Linked DNA regions of Homo sapiens: regions 1 and 3 are each linked to region 2. The links are contacts of gene promoters, found by promoter capture Hi-C in blood cells and fetal thymus (Javierre and others, 2016). All regions are on one chromosome and are shown on one strand. The core of a region is centred on a gene start or on the middle of the fragment in contact, and the rest is flanking DNA. Distances in the headings are between cores, read along the strand shown.

The links. Contacts are between HindIII fragments. The CHiCAGO score rates a contact against its expected background, and 5 or more counts as called.
Region 1: a fragment that was not itself captured here is called in contact with the fragment with the promoter of CRNKL1 in region 2 in 1 of 17 cell types (total CD4 T cells); the score reaches 6.1 in total CD4 T cells.
Region 3: a contact is called between the fragment with the promoter of NXT1 here and the fragment with the promoter of CRNKL1 in region 2, in 6 of 17 cell types (naive CD4 T cells, total CD4 T cells, activated CD4 T cells and 3 more). The highest score is 13.2, in naive CD4 T cells.

What each region holds. Positions count from the first base shown.
Region 1 is chr20:23,370,507-23,373,367 of GRCh38, reverse strand. It overlaps GZF1 (GDNF inducible zinc finger protein 1), which reads right to left. Exons shown (of 6, transcript NM_022482.5): 6 at 306-2,861. Among named protein-coding and RNA genes, the nearest start is that of GZF1, 9.8 kb to the right of the region's middle. The HindIII fragment of the contact is 2,979 bases long and covers 1-2,756 here.
Region 2 is chr20:20,051,121-20,053,820 of GRCh38, reverse strand. CRNKL1 (crooked neck pre-mRNA splicing factor 1) reads left to right here and starts at 1,355. Exons shown (of 14, transcript NM_001278628.2): 1 at 1,355-1,529. The coding sequence starts at 1,479. It overlaps CFAP61 (cilia and flagella associated protein 61), which reads right to left and starts at 1,289. Exons shown (of 27, transcript NM_015585.4): 1 at 1,230-1,289. RefSeq lists a silencer at 881-930 and enhancers at 1,021-1,320, 1,331-1,500. The HindIII fragment of the contact is 2,238 bases long and covers 1-1,398 here.
Region 3 is chr20:23,349,463-23,352,386 of GRCh38, reverse strand. It overlaps NXT1 (nuclear transport factor 2 like export factor 1), which reads right to left and starts at 1,596. Exons shown (of 2, transcript NM_013248.3): 1 at 1,326-1,596. NXT1-AS1 (NXT1 antisense RNA 1) reads left to right here and starts at 920. Exons shown (of 3, transcript XR_937384.2): 1 at 920-1,057. RefSeq lists enhancers at 745-794, 851-1,722, 1,661-1,955, 1,875-2,014, 1,723-2,595 and silencers at 1,285-1,554, 2,175-2,304. The HindIII fragment of the contact is 12,471 bases long and covers 1-2,924 here.

The DNA.
Region 1 (2,861 bases), core at 18-2,517, 3.3 Mb before region 2:
TCAGGGCTCCCACTATACATTATGGTGCATTGTATAATTACTTCATTGTATATTACAATGCAATAATAATAGAAAGTGCACAATAAATGCAATGCGCTTGAATCATCCTGAAACCATTCTGTCCCCCCACCTGTGGGAAAATTGTCTTCCACAAAAGTGGTCCCTGGTGCCAAAAAGGTTGGGGACTGCTGTGCTAGATGATCCTCTGACCTGTGTGCCTTTCTCAGTCACATCAAATGAAATATTGTTACTCCTGAGTACATGAATATCATGACATTTGGTTAAATTGACAAGTACCCATCTTGTTTCCCAAAAATGAACTCCTTGGAGGGACAAGGTTTATTTAACAGGTTAAAAATTAAATTATACACTCAAATTTACTTGTTTGGATAATCACCTACAGCAAAATCACATTTCTGTAAAAATCACCTTAAATAAAGGTCTCCACCACATGGCCCATTTTTTCCAAACGACAGCAAAGAATTTGGTAAAACGAAAGGCTGCACATCCCTTTGGAGTTTGGGCTGACAGCATTTCACAGAAAATGGTTGGAAAATGGTTGAAGCAAGCTCCTAAATGGCCCTTCTTGAGGCTCTGGGAGAGGCACTGTGCCGGCACCTGGCCACTTTCCTCATTACACACTTGGGACCAATCCACTCAGATGGTGGCCTCGCTTCCACTCAGCATGGCTGTGCTTGGACTTGGAGGAATGGGGCAGATGCTCCAGGAGGTCCTCTGTAACCAGTCCCCTACAGGGTTACGTTTCTCTGTTCTCAGGGACAGAGAAATGTATATAGTAGAAGTCGTATCTTTGATGCCTACTTTTTACATTGAAGAAAGTGGCAGAGAGCTCAACCGCACTTCCAGCCCGGTTGTGGCCTGCGCATGAGCAGAGGCCAGGATTTCTCCTCTCCAGGATCCCACTGCCAGAGACCAACTGGGATCCAAGCAGTTAAACAGCTTAATCCTAGGACTGTATGAAATAAAGGCTTATGGACCCGGATTTTACATTTCATTATTCACGTAATTAAGCAAATTATATGTTTCAATTAAGAATCATATTTCTGCAGAACCTAAATTATAACAGAAATAGATCTTTAAAAAATTGCAAAACTGCTTTTACAAAGCAGACATTTATTAACAACATTTTTTTGTAGAATTTCTAAGGAAACAAATTCAAGACAAAAATCCCTCCAGTAGGTAACAAAATGATCTATTGTTTCAATTCCTTCTGATCAAGTGACTTTATTCCATAAAACAGTACATCAGCTGGGCAGGTTCGGTCTCCTCTGGATGTATGACAGTCATTATTTATTTGTGCTGTAAACATAACTAGGATACAGTGACACTGTCATAACTAAATTTGAAGTAAATTAGTACTGTGACCTCCAAGGGCAGGTGTGAAGCATGTTATCAGCGCCTGAAACACCTTGTAGTGGTTTCACTAACATAAGTTAAAACATAAGCACTTAGGAAGAAAGTCTTCCCTCATTAATTTCTGGCATAGTGCAGCTACATGTTCATTCTGGAACTTAAAGTACCTTCCTCTTAGAAAATCAAAGTGTTTTCACAGCAAGTTTAATAAATTAAAAATGTAGAGAAAAAAGGAACTAGTGAACAAAAGAATTCTCCAAGGTTCCCTTTTTAAATTAATGTTTAAATGTTACATGTGAATCATAGCATTTCACAAGCACGTGGCACATACTCAAGGCCCTAGAACCAAATGTCAACGTTTAACAAATACAGCAGAATCGTCTTTTCATTGTGAATTTTTAAAAGCAATAATTAAGTCCTGCATGAAACAGCCAAAGAAGCATTTGGGACAAAGTTACTGGTTCTTCACAATCAACTCTTTAAGGCATAATCGGAGGTAAGTGTGCTGAGACTTTTGGTCCCTACTGCTATGTTCTCACATGCTCCCAAGGAAATAGACATGTCAGTTACTTGCCTGTTTCCATCTCTAGGTGTGGAAATGAGAAGTCTGGGTTTCTGGAAATTACAGAAATCAAGTCAGAAAAACCTGGCAAAAGTAATAATACTCTGTGTTCTATAATTTGCCACAGTCACCTCATTTTGCAAATAAAATGACTACACAACTTTCAAGTACTCTAAAGCGTCTTAATTTTTCATGCCTCTGCAAAAAAATACTATATTGTTTTGCTAGACTCTTTGGTAGGACAGCTTTTACCTAATCTGATTTTTTTAAGACAAACTGAACAGCCTCATCTCATTTCTAAGTTGATTTTATGACAAACTTCCTAGCTGCGTATGTGCTGAGATTACGCTAGCAGTTTTGCAGGTGTTCAATCTGTCAGTCATACTTTGTTTACTGCCTACAAATGGGGGGTGGGGAGGAATGAATGCAACAATCTATTTCTTCAGTTGCATTTGAGGGTCCCCACAGAAAATCTGATTTGCTTCAATTCAACAGGGAAGAAATGACTGAAAATATGTGGCCCCAGTTTTATTTCAGCTTGGAAGAAAAATACCTTGAAAGTAGTTATGAGAGAAGTAAACCCACATGGAAATATAAGGCAGAGTGAGAAGCCAGGAAGACTGCTAACTACAATATCAGGAGCTGGTTCAGTTCTCTGTACTCTGCAATTAAGACCAGCAGTTATCTATAAACTAGGTAATCAAGAATTAGAACGATTAGCACATACACCCTACACCAGAATTAAGTGAGGTTATGTTCACTGCCTTTTTGTCAATAAAGTAGCTGAGATCATGCAGATCAGGATTTTTGAGGGAAAGCTTTAAAAATGCTGTGATAAAGCCGTGCAAGTTAGCAGAAGTTCAGGAAAATCTGCAGAGGCCATTCTTGCCCACATCTTTGCACATGGACAATTATTTTTCTTAGC
Region 2 (2,700 bases), core at 106-2,605:
GAAACATCTTTTTAATATTTATTTATTTTGTTAGGTGGCTTTATGAAAGTGATATAAAATCTTCTCTATTTAAATTTTGAAAAGTGAGATAAAATATCTAAATAATATGGTTAATAAAGAGTTATGGCAAATACATTGATGTTGGTTATAACTGACTGCAGTTCTAGAAATCTGCATAAATCTTTTGTTGAAAGTAATATCTGCATTGGTAGACGTGATATTACTACATACATAAATATATATTTTCCCCAAACACCAAAAGAGCTTTGCAACTGTGGAAATTATCCTAACAAATGAGCTGCCAAGTCATGTCATTATACATTTGTCCAACCTCATAGAATGTACACCAAGAGTGAACCCTAATATAAACTATGAACTTTGGGTGATAATGATGTGTCAATGTAGGTTCAAGATTGTAACAAATGTACTGCTCTGGTGGAGGATATTTTTAAGAGTTGGAGGCTGTTAGAGGAGGGAAGAGGTACAATAATTGATAGCAGGAAGCTGTGGAGGGAGGAAATCTCTGTGTCTTCCACTTAATTTTGTTGTGAACCTAAAACTTCTCTAAAAATGTCTATTAAAAAAAATTCTCTTAACCTTTGCTTTTCAGTTTTTGAGGGCAGGTTAAGTATTATAACAGCTAACATCTACTGAGCATTTGTCTTTAATCCTAGTGAAACAGATGTTATTAGCCTTGTTTTATAGTTGAGGACATTGAGGCTAAGAAAATTTAACTAGAGTAATTAAGGCACACACAGAATTTAAACATGTTTCTTATCACAAGACTGAGTTGTTTTCCAGTTACTCTATTTATATTTTTTCCTAATATCTGGCTTCAAAGTACCTTCTGTTATTTTTAATTCCAAGCCTTAGAGTTAATTATTTGGGCACCTTAGAATTATTTGGGCACAACTGTCCCGAAACCAGAAACGAGGGGGCGTGGACCCAGAGACTACTAGAATGCAATGCTCGAGGCATTGCAGCCTAAAAGGGCGGCAGCTCGCCCCGTCGCATGCTGGGAATGGTAGTTTCCTCGCTCTCCCTTCTTCCCCCGCCCTCGAGCATCCAGATTGGAGCTCCGTTCTTACTCCCTTGCAGGGCGCCACGGCTCGACAGAGCCACTCGTCCTCGCCTGGTCATCCCAGTTCCGGAGGCTGACCTGGGGATGCGCCCTGGACGCCCTGCACCGCAGTCCTTGCGTCGCTGCTAGTCAGCACGGCGTTACCCACCTCATCCGCAGCTCCAGGACGCCGCACTCCACGCGCTGCCGCAAGGAGGACGCGCAGCCTGGTCACCATGGAAACGGTGCCGCCTCCGTCACGGCTCAAGCGAGAGGTCAAAGGTCAGTCCTGCAAGTTCCGCTTCCGGTTCCGAGATCCTGTTTGTTTTCTGAAAGCTTTGTGGTTTCGGTGAGCTCTCAGAGCCGATTTCTAGCGTCCGTGCCGGGGACAGGTGTCCAGAGGTCGACTGCTGCAGACATGGCGGCCTCCACCGCGGCCGGGAAGCAGCGGATTCCCAAAGTGGCCAAGGTAGGCGATCGCGAGGGGCCTTGTAGGAGGTGGCCTAGGAAAGGGGCATCCCTCAGCCCTGAGGGTGCCCGGGTTGGGAGAGAGTGTTCCCGCCGGGGAGAAGGCTCACCCTGAGAGATGGAGAGGAAGGGCAGCTGGTGGTGGGGCGCGGGCTCTTGTCATCGCGGAGCACGACCCGCGTTGGCGTGGCCTTCGTTCTGGGGTGGTTTTGCTGGGGAGTGGAGTGGGGTGGTTCGGTGAAGATTTACTGAGCCAGGCACTGCACTGGGCGCTGGGAAGCTACGCTCGTACGCTGGCCACAAGCAGTACTCAAAACACGAGTTTCTGTATAAAGACGACCTTGCTAGATGTTACCGAGAGGCAAAGTAGAATATGCCATGGGCGTGAATAAGGGGGTCGTATGAAGGGGTCCTGAAAGTAAATTTTGCTGAGGAAATGACCTTTAAGCTGAGACTTGAAGGCTGAATAGGAGTTAGCCCAGCTGACAGCGGAGGGCGAGAGTAGACGGTAGGAGTAGTATAGTATCATAAGTTAATTAAACAGTAGACTTACTATCTGGTATTTCCTTTGATAGCTAATACTTACCAAGTGCTTAATATGTGGCAGACTTTGAAGCCTTTACAGATACCCTCCCTCCAGTCTTTCTTGAGCCCGGATGACTCTCTTGAACTGGACCTTTACATAACTATTTGTCTGACTCGCAGGAGTAATGCATATAGAGCAAGTAACACTGTGTCTGGCACTTAGTGCTTATTAAATATGAGCTATCACCATTATCATCATTACTCCACATGTGGCATTAAGTAACATTTTTTATAATTCAGCTACATAAACTTTTATTGGGCATCACTGGTCCAATGGAAATATAATGCACACCACATATGAAATTTTAAATTTTCTCATATCTACATTAAAAAGTAAAAACAAAGCAAAAAAGTGAAATTAATTTTGATAATATATATTTTATTTGAGCTAATGTATCCAAAATATTATCATTTCAACATGTAATCGGTATAAAAAATGTAATGAGGTAGTTTATTCTTTTTTATACTTCATCTTCAAAACCAATGTGTATTTTACACTTACAGTCCACCTCAATTTGTACTCACCACATGTGACTCATAGCTACTGTGTTGGACAGCACAGCTCTAAGCTACGTTAGACTGTAAGC
Region 3 (2,924 bases), core at 347-2,846, 3.3 Mb before region 2:
AAATGAGCAGTTAAGAGCCAATTTCAGACGTGGGTCTTTCCACGCCCTCCACAGACCTCATAGTTAAGCCTCAACTGTACTCTGGACTGAGTACAGTGGTCCCTCGGTATCTGTGAGGAACTGGATTCAGGACCCCCGAGGATACCAACACCTGCAGATGCTCAAGTCCCTGATAAAATGGTGTACTGTTTGATATAACCTATGCGCAGCATCCTCCTATATACCTTCATCATCTGTAGGTAACTTATAATACCTAATACAATGTAGATGGGATGTAAATAGTTGTTATACTGTATAGTTTAGGAAATAATGACAAGAAAAAAAAAGCCTCTACATGTTCAGTACAAACGCATTTTTCTTTTTCTGAAGAATATTTTTGATTTGAGGTTGGTTGAATCCACCCCACGCGGAACCCACGACTAAGAAGCGCTGTGTTTGCTAAGGGCTTCACACAAATTACCTCATTTAAATGTTACCACAAATGGATGAAAAAGGTATTACTATAACAATTTTACAAATGAGAAAAGGGAAACCTAGGGCTGGATCAAAGTAACGACGGTTAAGTACACTCCTGATCTATCGTTTACAAGACTAGACTGAGGGCTGAAATTTTGTCAATACAACGCTGTCCTTGTACTCGCGTAAGCAAGTCTCCATGAGCACAACTCCAGGACTGCTAGAGTGGGAATTTTCTCCCAGGGACCCCATTTCTCTTTGGCTGGAATTCCCGATCTCCACCTCACTCCTCCTCCCTCCATGGCACCAGTCCCCCCATCATCTCAGAAATGCCCCTCTTCTCCGCCCCTGGCTGTCTTTCCAAACACAATCTAACAACTGGCCACGCCCCCACACACCATAGAAGGACCATCTCCACTTACGGTTTTCAGCTACCTATGAGGTCGTCAGTCCCGCTGTCTGTGTCAAATCAGAAAAAGAACCTGACCGTGAGGACTAGAGTAAGAGGCTGTGAAGACTGCCGCCTCCTCGCACGACCCACACCGTCGAGTGTCCGGAGATGGACGGGAAAAGCTACCACAGTGGCATGGCCTTATTTCCTGTGAGTCGCCTTTAATTCAAACCTAGACAGACGCACGCCCTGCCCGGCCCTCCTCAGACCCGAGAGCTGCGCTGTGAGGGGACGCGCCTCCCCTCGTTGATGAGAATTCGCTGCCACGCTTTTTGCACAGGCGAGAGCCTCACCGCGGCGGCAACTCTACCACGTGGACAAAGGCACAGCCGTGTCTCATTCTCGACAATGGAGGAGGGCGTGGGGTATGCACTAGGGGCTGTCTCGGGGGTCAGACCGCCGGGGGACGGCAACGTACCTGCGCGGCGACGTCCAGGGTCAGCGCGGGCCGCGGCCCCCACGGTCGGGACGCCCCCCGCGTGGGACGCAGTTCCACTGAGGGGCCGGCCGCGGAGGTCACAAGGTGGGCCCACCGAAGCCTCTGGTAGGGGCACGGGAAGAGCCGCCTTTCTCTCCTCCTCCTCCTTCTTGGAGGCTTACTCTGGGTCACCGGGGCCCCAGAGCCGGGGGACTTTCCGGCGCAGTTCCGCGGCTTCCCGCGCGCGGCCAGCCGGTCTCCACGCAGACGCGAGCGCCCCGGCGCCGCCCTCTCCCGCATTCCCGTGACGGGCAGCGAAGTCAGCCAGTGGGACTGCGGGCCGGAAGGCTAACTCCGCCCATGTGTGGCTTATAAGAGGCGGTAGCTTCCGGGAGTGTCACTTTCCCAGAAATCCCGGCAAATCCGCCCTAGAGTTTTCGTTGGTCCAACCGGGCCACAGACTCCGGCCCGTCTGGTTAGGTGGGATGCCTGATTGGGCCAAACCTCTTAGGTCCCGCACCTAGAGCGGGGAGTAGCGTCTGCTTTTTTTTCCGCTGAGCGGAGGCCGCTAGGCTGGAGAGGGAGGGGAAGGTGTGTGGGGTCGGGTGAGATGCTTTCCCCTCGTCCCGCATGCGCCTGTATTGGAGTGATTTCAGTTAAAAGTCTCGTGAAACGTCACCAGTGATGTAGTCACGGCCAGCAGCAGCTGCCTGACCCCGCCGAGGCCTTCCGTCTGGCAACATGTGGGGCGCCGCAATGCTTGAGGCCACGGCGAGGGCAACGCCGGCCGCGCCCCGTGGAAACCGCGTGGCGGAGTGCTTGAGCCGATCGCGCTCTTTAGGAGTTAGGCCACTTAGAGGCGACATCTTGGTGGACACGGAGGAAGCCAGTTTTAGTCAGATGGGAAAAGTAGCTAAAAGTGGGAGGAGACTGGGGCGAGGGTGGGACGTGGGGGAGGCGGGGGCGTGACGGCGGCTCTCCACTGCCCTGAGGCTTGAGGGGCCCCGGGAAACCCGGGCCCGGCTGGGGTTGGGACTCTGTTCTTCCGCGTTCATAGCTACGATTCAGCTGTTCTGGAATGAGAACTGGATTTTTACTGAACTTTACGAACAGGCTCAACAGGATGTAACCATTCAGTGTGGAGGCATGAGAAACTATAGCTTGTAAATTAAAAGAAAAACCTCATTTCTTTAGACAACATTTTCAGCTCCATCTGCTGGTCTGAGGCTGAATAATTAATTGAAAAGCCAGGAGAGAAATGGGGCTAGATGAAGTGAGGTAGTTTAACCTGTGCTTTCTTGGCGTCCCGTCGGCTCCCTTTGCTTGCATTCCTAAGAGAATCTTGGTCTCAGATTTCAGGACAAGTGGAAAACAGTTGGGCTATTTAGTATAGGCCACCCCTTCCCCCCCGCACCCTCTCCCCCCACACACTTCAGTTAAGTAGGTGGAAAGTTTGGATTATTAAAAAGACACGTTGGAGGCTGAGCAGAGAGTGTGAAAGAGCATTTTCGGGGCTTTGTGAACTAACATGGCCTTTTGAACCCCAAGGCAGTGATACTTGGATTGATCTAAATCAGCGTGGATGGAATGGAAGTGGGA